3 separate regions of the Homo sapiens genome follow, and regions 1 and 2 are each linked to region 3. The links are contacts of gene promoters, found by promoter capture Hi-C in blood cells and fetal thymus (Javierre and others, 2016). All regions are on one chromosome and are shown on one strand. Each heading gives the region's core, a stretch centred on a gene start or on the middle of the fragment in contact. The rest is flanking DNA. Distances are from core to core; before and after follow the strand shown.

Evidence for each region. Contacts are between HindIII fragments. The CHiCAGO score rates a contact against its expected background, and 5 or more counts as called.
Region 1: a fragment that was not itself captured here is called in contact with the fragment with the promoter of GNA14 in region 3 in 1 of 17 cell types (neutrophils); the score reaches 5.6 in neutrophils.
Region 2: a fragment that was not itself captured here is called in contact with the fragment with the promoter of GNA14 in region 3 in 1 of 17 cell types (erythroblasts); the score reaches 5.1 in erythroblasts.

The regions. Positions count from the first base shown.
Region 1 is chr9:78,149,291-78,152,652 of GRCh38, forward strand. It overlaps the pseudogene SYNGR2P2. Among named protein-coding and RNA genes, the nearest start is that of CEP78, 85 kb to the right of the region's middle. The HindIII fragment of the contact is 3,871 bases long and covers 164-3,362 here.
Region 2 is chr9:78,098,960-78,102,726 of GRCh38, forward strand. No RefSeq gene overlaps it. Among named protein-coding and RNA genes, the nearest start is that of GNAQ, 69 kb to the left of the region's middle. The HindIII fragment of the contact is 1,400 bases long and covers 1,657-3,056 here.
Region 3 is chr9:77,646,994-77,650,629 of GRCh38, forward strand. GNA14 (G protein subunit alpha 14) reads right to left here and starts at 1,329. Exons shown (of 7, transcript NM_004297.4): 1 at 677-1,329. The coding sequence starts at 800. The HindIII fragment of the contact is 2,117 bases long and covers 1-1,707 here.

The DNA of each region.
Region 1 (3,362 bases), core at 849-3,348, 500 kb after region 3:
ACAGCAAGAATTTATTTCTTATTCATGTTCCATATCTATTTAGCTCAGAAGGAAACTTTGGAGTCTATCAAAGCTCATGCTGACAGAGCAGCCATAATCTCAAAATTGCTGGTTGTTGGCCTAGGGATAGGGAGCGTCCTGGAGCTCGTTGCATGGTCATATAAGCTTTCCCATAGGGAAGTGATATCACTTCTCTCACGACTCAATGGCCATAATTAGTTACATGGCTCCATCCAATCACAAGAGAACCAAGAAGTGCAAACCCATTATGTGCTTGGAAAGTGGGAGCTGGGAATCTTTGATGAACAGCACTAATAACTACTACAGAATGTGAGGGGAGTAAAAGGTAGAAATGAACAGAATATTTTTAGAAATTTTAATCAGCTTTATTGGGTATAAACACATTTAAAAAACCATAAAATTCATGTTTTTTTTTTTTTTTTTTTTTTTGGAATGAGAAAACATTTATTCCATCTCCAAACAGCATCCCAGGGCGGGGCATCTCCCCTAAGGCTTTATAATACATTCAGCACAGACAGAGTCTGGGAGCCATGGGGCACCCCTGCCCTCCTCACGCTTCTTAAGTAACAACTGCATAATATTTACATAAAGCTGGGTGTTGTCAGGCAAAGCTCTTCCCTGCTGCCAGGAGTGGGAGCAAGGAGGAAGTGTTGTGGGCACCGGCCCCACCCCCACACCATGGGAGGCAGCCCAGAGACCACTGGCACAGGGTGGTGGCCCCCAGATCATACAGCAGTGGGGATAGGGGGAGCAAACCTGAGTGAGGACGCAGGAGCCTGGTCCCGCCCCACTGCACAGGGCAGGTGTGAGGGCTCCCCCGAGTCTTTGGCAGAGAACGCAGATAACAGCGACTCCCACAGCCTGACCTGGGCTGGGGGGAAGCTGAGGCACTTGTCAGTAGCACATGGGTGCCTGCTGGCTTCTAGCCACTCCAGGAGGGGCCGGGGTCATTAAAAGCAAGGAGAAACACTAGCTAAAAACCCTTTCCTAAAAGTGTCATGGAAGAGTGAGTGGCTGACTGAAGCCATCTGTGTGCGGGCACTTGGGGTGTGGCTCTGCCAGACCCCGAGGCTGGGAGGCTCCTTAGCTGTGTGTCAATCGCACAGGACGTGACAGGCGAAGGAGGGGGGCTGGCAGTTCCAGGAGGCTCGTGGGAAAGTCCAGGGCAGAGGGGAGGGTCCTCTCTGCCCCCCTTCCCACCCCAAACGGCACTCAGCCACTCAGTACACAGGGGGCGGCTGGTAGCCCTCAGTGGTCTCCGCATTCTGGGTGAAGGGCAGATGCTGGTAGTTGTCCACAGATGCACCTGGGTAGGAGGCGTAGGCAGTGTTGGGGTCCAGGGTGGAGTCGACGTAGTTCTGGATGAAGTCCACGCCAGCCTTGTAGTGCCGGTAGGCCAGGAAGGCCAGCACGCCCCAGGAGAAGATGGAAAAGAAGCTGAAGGTGATGGCTGCCTGCGCGGAGTTGGCCCCCACCAGCACGTCCTCCGGTTGGGTGGCCGCCCACTGGTTAGTGAGGAAGTAGAAACCAACAAACCACAGGAAGGCTCAGAGAGCTGAGAAGAGCAGGTCACCCACGACCAGGTACTTGCGGTCAGTGGCATTAATGATCTGGGGAAAATAAACGTCGACCACCAAGGAGGCCGAGGCCTGGAAGGCCAGCACCCTGATGGCATTGCGGTAGCGGAAGGCGTCCTCGTTATGGTTGAAAACGCAGTACCTCTGCTTAGACTTGCTGTAGCCCTTGTCATAGATGCAGGAGAACACGATCAAGGCGAAGACCCTGCACGCAGCGCTCACCACCACCTGCGGTTGCGTCAGGAAGCGCCCGCAGGTGGAAGGAGCCGCCCGCCTTTGGCAGCGCCATAGGCCCCGCTCTCCATGTTGCCGTCGCCGCAGCCAAATTCATGTGTTTTAAATGTACAGTTTGATGAGTTTTGACAAATGCATGTAGTCATGTAACCACCACCACAATCAAGGTATAGAATATGTTCATCACCCACCATAATTGCCTTCTGTCACATAACATTTGACCCTGTTTTCACACCTCCACTCTTTGGCAACCACTGATCTGATTTCTGTCACCACAGTTTTGCCTTTTCTGGAATGTCATAAAAATAGAATCATATGGTATGTAGTCTCCTGAGTCTGGCTTCTTGCACTGCGCTTAACGGTTTTGAGATTTATTTGTTTGTGCAAAAATCATATTCTTTTTTGTTGTTGTTTACTAGTATTCCATTTTGTGGATAACCAAGATTTGTTTGTTCATTAAGCCTATTGGACATTTGGGGTGCTTCTAGTTTGGAGCTACTATGAATAAAGTCCATTGTGAACCTTTATATTCTTTTGTATGAACATCTGTATGCATTTAAGTCAGGTCAATACCTAATAGTGAAATTGCTGGGTGATGTAGTAAGTTTGTGTTTAAATATATGAGAAATGACTAATCTGTTTTCTGAAGTGGCTTTGCATTTCCACCAGCCATGTCTGAGAACTCCAATTGCACCATATTCCTGCCTATGTTGTTATTGTCAGCCTTTTAAATTTTAGTCATTATAGGCTTGGCGCGGTGGCTCACGGCTGTAATCTCAGCGCTTTGGGAAGCCGAGGCGGGCAGATCAGGAGGTCAGGAGATTGAGACCATCCTGGCTAACAAGGTGAAACCCTGTCTCTACTAAAAATACAAAAAATTAGCCGGGCATGGTGGCAGGCGCCTGTAGTCCCAGCTACTCAGGAGGCTGAGGCAGGAGAATGGCTTGAACCTGGGAGGCGGAGCTTGCAGTGAGCCAAGATCGGCCACTGCACTCCAGCCTGGGTGACAGAGAGAGACTCCATCTCAAAAAAAAAAAAAAAAAAATTTAGTCATTATAATGAATATGTAATGGTATTTCATTATGGTTTTAGTTTGTATTTCTTTAATAACTAAAGAAATTGAGTGTCTTTTCACTTGCTATTTGTATAGCCTTTGTGATGTGTATGTTCAAATCTTCTGTACATTAAAAAAATTGAACTAGTTTCTTCTTGTTATTGAATAATAAGAGTCCTGCATACTTCTGGATACAGATTCTTCATCAGATATATGTTTTGTAAAGATTTCATGCCTGTTTGTGGTATGCCTTTCCATGTTTTTAACAGAGTCTTTTCAGAAGCAAACATTTAAAAGTTCAACTTATCCATTTTTTTAATAAAGTTTATGCTTTTTGTGTCCTACCAAAAATCTTTGCCTAGCCCCAGATCACAAAATCTCCCTCTGTAGTTTATTCAAGAATATTTATAATTTTATTTTATTTATTTATTTATTTTTGAGACAGAGTCTTGCTGTCACCCAGGCCGTAGCACAGT
Region 2 (3,767 bases), core at 1,107-3,606, 450 kb after region 3:
CACCTGCCTTGGGCTTCCCAAAGTGCTGGGAGTACAGGCGTGAGCCACTGCACCCAGTGATTTTTTTTATAATGATAAATTAACTGCCTTGATCTCACTATGATGTGTTTATAAAAGCTTATGAGGAAAAAATTACAAATGTGTGTGGTCGTAACAATAATTTCAATGGCAAATGTCTTGTTTATTGGAAATGACTTGGAAAGAATAGGAGATAAACTATGAAGATGATGGTGTGCACAATAAAAGACTTGGGATATAACTGTAATATTATCGCAAATGTGCATCTGAGGTGATTAAAAACAAAAACAACTGGCTGGGCACAGTGGCTCATGCCTGTAATCACAGCAATTTGGAAGGCTGAAGTGGGAGGACGGTTTAAGCCCAGGAATTCAAGACCAGCCTGGCAACATAAGGAGACCTTGTTTCTATAAAAAAGAAAAAACAATTAGCTGGGCATAGTGATATGTGCCTCACTCTGGGTGACAGAGTGAGACCCTGTCTCAAAAGAAATTAAAACAACAACAACAACAACAAAAACTGCCTGCTTGACTGGATATTGGGTGCATTGCTTCAAAATGTAAATTCAATTTAGCAGACATTTGTGATTGCCTATTTTTATGGACTGAATTATGTTCCAACCCCCATCTCCCACCTCCAAAATCCATATGTTAAAGCCTTAAACCCTCACCCTCAGTGTGACTGTTTGGAAATAGGGTCTTTAAAGAGGTAATTAAGGTTGAATGAGAGCTCAAGTGTAGGGCCCTAATTCAAAAGGACTGTCTTTTTTTTTCTTTTTTTTCTTTTTGAGATGGAGTTTTGCTCTGTTGACCAGGCTGGAGTGCAGTGGTGCAATCTCGGCTCACCACAACCTCTGCCTCCTGGGTTCAAGCGATTCTCCTGCCTCAGCCTCCCGAGTAGCTGGGACTACAGGCATGTGCCATCATGCCCAGCTAATTTTTGTATATTTAGTAGAGATGGGGTTTCACTATGTTGGACAGGCTGGTCTCAAACTCCTGACCTTGTGATCCGCCCACCTCAGCCTCCCAAAGTGCTGGGATTACAGGCGTGAGCCTCCGCGCCCAGCCTTGGACTGGCATTTTTACAAGAACAGGAATAGGTATCAGGAGTCATCATGCACAGAGGAAAGGCCCTGTGAGGACACAGAGAGGAGGCAGCCATCTCCAAGCCAGGAAAAATGGTCTTCCCAGAAACAAGCCCTGCTGGCACCTTAATTTTGGACTTCCAGCCTCTAAGACTGTGAGAAAGTACATTTCTGTTGTGTAAGCTACCCAGTGTGTGGCATTCTGTTTCAGCAGCCTGAGCAGAGTAATACATCTACCACACCACTTGCAAGTTATGGTGCAGGAGTTGGCGAAGGGTTATAGAAATAAACAAGGTAAGGCTGGATTCTGTCCCCTAGAGAAGCATAGGAGCACATGTGAGACGAAGAACATGACTCTGGAGCTAGATTGCACTGTGTGACTTTGAGCAAGTTACTTAAATTCTCTGAGCATCAATTTCCCATCTCCAAATTGAGGATGATAATAATATGTAGGTATGTTATGAGGATTAAATGCTTACTGTTTACAGAGGACCTAGAACAGTGTCTGACACACAGTAAACACAATATAAGTATTTGATTAACAAATAGATGAAAGCTTTGTACATTGGAAAAAAGGACACGAGGTCAGAAATATGAAGAATAACGTTAAATAATTATGACTTGCTGATAATTTTCATGTAATATATCAGATAAGATTACATACTCCCTTCAAAAAATGATAGCACATCTCCTTTAATGTAAAACCAAACTATAATGTTACAAAAGAAAATAAAATTAATAATAATATATCAATATTGGTTTATTAATTGTGACAAATATACAGGAAAAAATGTTAGGAGAAATTGGGTGTGGGGTGTATGAGAACTCTGTACTATCTTTGCAAAAATTAAGTACATTGAAAGATATTCTAAACTAAAATTCTATTTTTTAAAAAAGAATATATGGCTCATGACTGTAATCCCAGCACTTTGGGAGGCCAAGGCGGGTGGATCACAAGGTCAGGAGATCTAGACCATCCTGGCCAACATAGTGAAACCCCGTCTCTAGAAAAATACAAAAATTAGCTGAGTGAGGTGGAACGCGCCTGTAGTGCCCAGCTACTCGGGAGGCTGAGGCAGGAGAATCGCCTGAAGTGGAGGTTGCAGTGAGCTGAGATCGCATCACTTCACTCCAGCCTGGCAACAGAGCGAGACTCCCTCTCAAAAAAAAAAAAAAAAAAAAAAAAGAATATGAATTAAGGAGTAATTATTTACTTCACAGAAATGTTGATTGTTAAATGACAGAATTTAAGAGCTGAGTCACAGTAATCTTGAATTCACCTTGTCTATTTTACAGAGGAGTGTTGATTTAGGCTTGCTTCACACGTGGCTAATTTTCAAGATCAAATTCACACAGGAAAACAAGGGGGGCAGAAAGACAAAGCACTAACCTAGAAGGTGAGGTGCATCATGTTTCACTCAATGTGGCCGTGGCTCAGGCACATCACAGTAACAGTTCTGGACCTCAGTTTTTCATTGGTTACTTTCACTCTAACATTCTTGATTCTAAACTTGATGTGCATCTACATCACAACATAAGGCAGCTCTGGGGAGCAGGCTCTAACTGATGCTTTCTCCAAGCCCCTAGAAGCTATGCATATGCAGTTTGTGTGCCAATTTCTGAGTGTGTGTGAGGAAATGCAGGGGTGAATCGATGGACAAATAACTAGACAAATATATTTGTTTTAAAGACTCAACATTGAGGACCAAGTTTTCATAGTGAATACCATTCAGCAAGTCGATTAATCAGATTTGGATAGGAGTAAATGTGGGCAAACCTTGACAATAAAATATTTACTGAAAGTCTGCAAGGGGAAGATGACATTCTAAATAGGTACATGCTATATGTTATTAACAGATCAAATTTGATTTAGAAAAGGAGAGATCTGGAATTTCCTATAAAAGCAAGAAAGACTATGAACTAACGCAAGAAATTTTGAAGCTGAAGGAAAGAAAGCTTATAAAGAGTTCAAGATAATGGGGCCTGATGCTGGCTGATGTTGAAGAAATGCTGTTACCAATAGCAGGCAGACCTGGATCTGACAGCCACCTGTTGAGAAAGCCCTGAAGAATAATGGCAGCTATTCAGTCAACAAATTTGGGGAGAAACTCAATTGCCCCAGAGGCCCTTTTCAATTCTGCTACTAGTTTTCATGAACAAATTGTCATTCTTATTGTAATGCTTACTTTACTGTGAAAGTCATGATATTTTTCTTCTGTAAAATACTATCCTAACACAGTCAATAATAATTAATGAGTGGTAACCCAGTGATTCATGGGCTATAATTTTTTTTACCAAGTAAATCATAGTCTCATCTTAGCAAGTTATTAAATGGATAAAAGTCCTTCAAATCCTGCAAATCATTTGATTTAAGACTTAATTCATGTTCAATGAAATTTATTTTTTTAACTATTTTAAACAGCATTGATTGAGACAAAAGCTCAAGAAAATGGGTAGTTTCTACATTGCTTTGAGATTGATGCTATTTAAAAGATTTGTGCTTGAAATATTGAAAACTAATGGCCACCCTAATTGTTCTTCTAAAGCTAAAGCTATTAAATAACCATCTTCAGAAGTATCCCTTGGAGCAGGTTTACTCGTGAGCATAGTATTCATGTTCTAGAAGCCAATGATGTTTTTTAGGTGGAACAAAAGGGATTTTCCT
Region 3 (3,636 bases), core at 79-2,578:
GGGTCCGCTGCAAACACAAAGGCCTGAGGGACCCCCATGGGAGGCAGGCATAGGAGCTCACGGTCAGAGGAGCAGCAACGGCATGGGCTTCACCCCCACAGCTGACCTAGCATCGGCTTTGCCTTTTCTCAATCAGGGCAAGTTGGTCAGTTCTCCAGGCCTCCATGTTTTAATTCTCTAGAATAGCGATATCACCTGCCCGCATCACCAGGTGGTGATGCCCTTAAGAACTTAGCACGATCTGGCACATGGTAAATTCTCAAGATGCTTCATCTAGAACTGAAAGCGTACGGGTCAGAGCTAGCGCTGAACCCAAGATGTGGGTCACCACAGACCCCAAGCTGGGTGTGCTGCGGGCGGAGGAGTGGACGGGGTTTTGAGGAGAGGGGCACACCGGAACACATAAGGTACAGCGGTCAAGAGGTTAAGTGTTACAGGTCCCTATCCTGTTTTGGGGCAGGGGAAGGTGTTGCTTTTGCAAGTCGCCCAGCCAGAGATGGAAAGAACAGGCACCTAAGGCCCCAAGTTGCTGGCATCCGTGAGCTCCGAGGGGGAGAAGGACGAAGCCGCCCTGCACCCCGCTGGGCTCCAGGGCCGCGCGGGTGCCAGTGGAGAGGCCGGGAGGGCTCGGAAGAAAAACGCCCGGCTCACTGGAGTCGGAGACGCAGCCACTCACCCAGCAGCAGCAGCTTAAGCTCACGGCGCGCGTCCTTCTTGTCCCGACGAAGCTGTCGCTCGATCTCCGCGCTGATGCGCTGCGACTCCTTCTCCTCCGCGGACAGGCAGCAGCAGCCGGCCATGGTGCGCTCAGCTCAGTACCCGACGGGGCGACGCGGCCCCGGGCACCCGAATCCTCGGCCCGGCCGCTCACCCGGCCAGCATGCGACGGGCACAGGGGTGTGGAAAGAAAAGACGGGGGCCGACTTGAGCTTTGGAGTAAGACGCCTGGACCTCCGAGGCTCAATCCCCCTTCGAAAGTCGGCTCTGAGGCGGGGTGAATGCCGAGCGCTGGGAACGCTCGAGTGCACCCCGGATCCGGGCTCAGCCCGCCCCACTCTCGCTCTGGGGAGGAGGAGGGCGAGTCGAGAAGTTGGGAGCGTTGCTGGCCCCGGGAAGATGCGCGCGCCCCTTGGCACAGGAGCCGGACAGCAGTCGGGGGCGCAGACGAGTTGGAACGTCGGTGCTCGGGGGAGAGTAGGATCTCCTGGGCCTAGGGGTGTCCCCAGGCGGGAGGTAGGCGCGGAGTGGGTTGGAGGCAAAGGACCTGGCTGGCCTTTGCCTGGAAAGTTCTGAAAACCTCAGCAGTGACCGCAGACTAAGACTGAGTGGAAAGGTTCCCGCTAGCGTTTGTGGCTCTAAGTGGCAGGAGGAGGCGGAGCATCTTGAACCTGCAGCCCTGGCGTCTGCTGGACTTGCCCTTCTGGGCACCCCAAGCCGAAGGCGCCTGGAAGTGAAAGGGGACGAGCAGGGGGCGCGGAGCTGGGGGTGGGAGCTGGCACCTCTAGGAGCAGCTCCCACACTTGCCTCCCTGGCTGGGGCGTCCCGGCCAAGGTTTGCTGTAATCTGCGCGTCTGGCCGCCAGGCACCGGGTTCCGACAGGTGAGTGAGTTTCGCCAACTCACTCGCTCGGAGAAGGCGGCAGCAGGCTGGAAGAGGAGCGGCGCCAAGCGTCTGTTGCGGGACACAAAGCCCCGGACCTGAAGTGGAAGCTTGCCCACCAGCTTCACCACCACGCACACCCGGATTTCCTAGACTGGCTCCTTCCGCTTCCCGGACGCCCCGGCCCAGCTCGGGCTTGGCCAAAGCCCTTGGTCAGCTCGGCAATTTGCCTGTAAAGTGTGGCTGGGCCTGAGCCTGCTGGCTCTGAGCTCGGAGAAGGAGCCGCCGCTGGGTTCAGTTATAAGAGAACTGCAAGAGCCCAGGGTAAATATCCTCTCGGTCTCCGGACGAGGGGGCTGGGGAGAAAGGGAACGGCTGATTGCTTTGCATTTTATGATGGGAAAGACACCTGCTTTGTAGAAAGGGCTGATACGTTCCTAGTAGCACCTGGCAAGTTTCCTGCCCAGCCCTGAAGCCTAACAGCCGCCTTGCGATTGTGTCCGCACTGACACCTTGGCCTGTATCCTGGACCGTCGGGGTCAAGTTTGAGCAGCATTAATAAAAACTTTAAAAGCACCTCTTAGTACTTAAGTGACACGATAAAATGCATATTACAACATCTGACTTTTGTCTGTGTAGATTTTGATGCAGAAAAGGGAAGGTGGGGAGAGGGGATCCTATTGGCCACAGCAATGAACGTTCTTTCCTTCTCAAGTCAGTATAGGCCATATGCTAATGGGGCGTTAGGCAATTAGCTAGCGCTTCCTCTACTAAGAGCAGGCATAAGTGCCTTTCATTTGAGTAGCATATATTTTATAAATTCAAACTGAGGAGCACATTGAGTGGAATGGTACGTGTCATTATATAAAGAAGTTGGTATCGCGATGCTATCTGGCTGCATGTTCTTATTATTTTACAGTTTAAGAAATGTAGAGGAATCAGACATTAAAAATGTGCATACATGCTTTAATGTGTGACTATTTTAGTTTTCTTGCAGGCATAAATTGACAGTAACAGTGACCCCTACAGGAAAACTCCTGGACATTTCAGATTTGATCTTTGGCCATTTAATAGCCTGTTTCTTCTCTCTTAGCTCTTACGGATTCATTTACAATTTGAGAATAAGATCTCTTGGCTTCTCAAAGTCATGGTTGCATCATAATTGTTATCATTTAAAAATTATAAAAAATTTTTAAATGATTAAAACTAGGGCAAATTTGAACTCTTACGTTAACGGGAATTACTGATACTGACCTATTAGGTTTAAAGTTGGCAAGATTTCAAAAACAGTTATGAAACATATTGATTAGGGCAAATCTGTACAACTTTCCTGGGCTAGTCAGCTTGGCAGTATATATCTGAAGCCTTAAACATGTCCGTCCCCTTCGGCCAAACCAGTAATTTCTCCCTTAAGAAATAACTAGAAAGAAGCCTCATGACTGATGCAAAGGTTTTATTGCCAATACAACAACAAAAACTCACAACCTAAATACCTAACAACAGGGAAGAGATCACTTAAATCATGGTTTATCCATACAATGAGATGTTTTGGAGCCATTAAATATGTGGATATGCGAGTAGTAAACATGTGAATAAATTTGGAGAAAATCCTCAAAATATATTGAATGAAAAAGGCAAGATCCAAAAATATAAAGAGTATGATAAGATTTTAGTATAAGAATACGCATACACATTTTTAAGAGACTGAAGGGACACACATCAAAAAGGTAGCTTGCTGTGAGTCATGGCTGTTTGGTTGATTTTCATTGTTCATTAGAAAATTTGGGCTGGGTGCAGTGGCTCACGTCTGTAATCCCAGCACTTTGGGAGGCCGAGGCGGGCAGATCACCTGAGGTTGGGAGTTCGAGACCAGCCAGCCTGACCAACATGGAGAAACCCCATCTCTACTAAAAATACAAAATTAGTTGGGTGTGGTGGCACATGCCTGTAATCCCAGCTACTCGGGAGGCTGAGGCAGGAGAATTGCTTGAATCCGGAAGGCAGAGGTTGTGGTGAGCCAAGATCACACCATTGCAC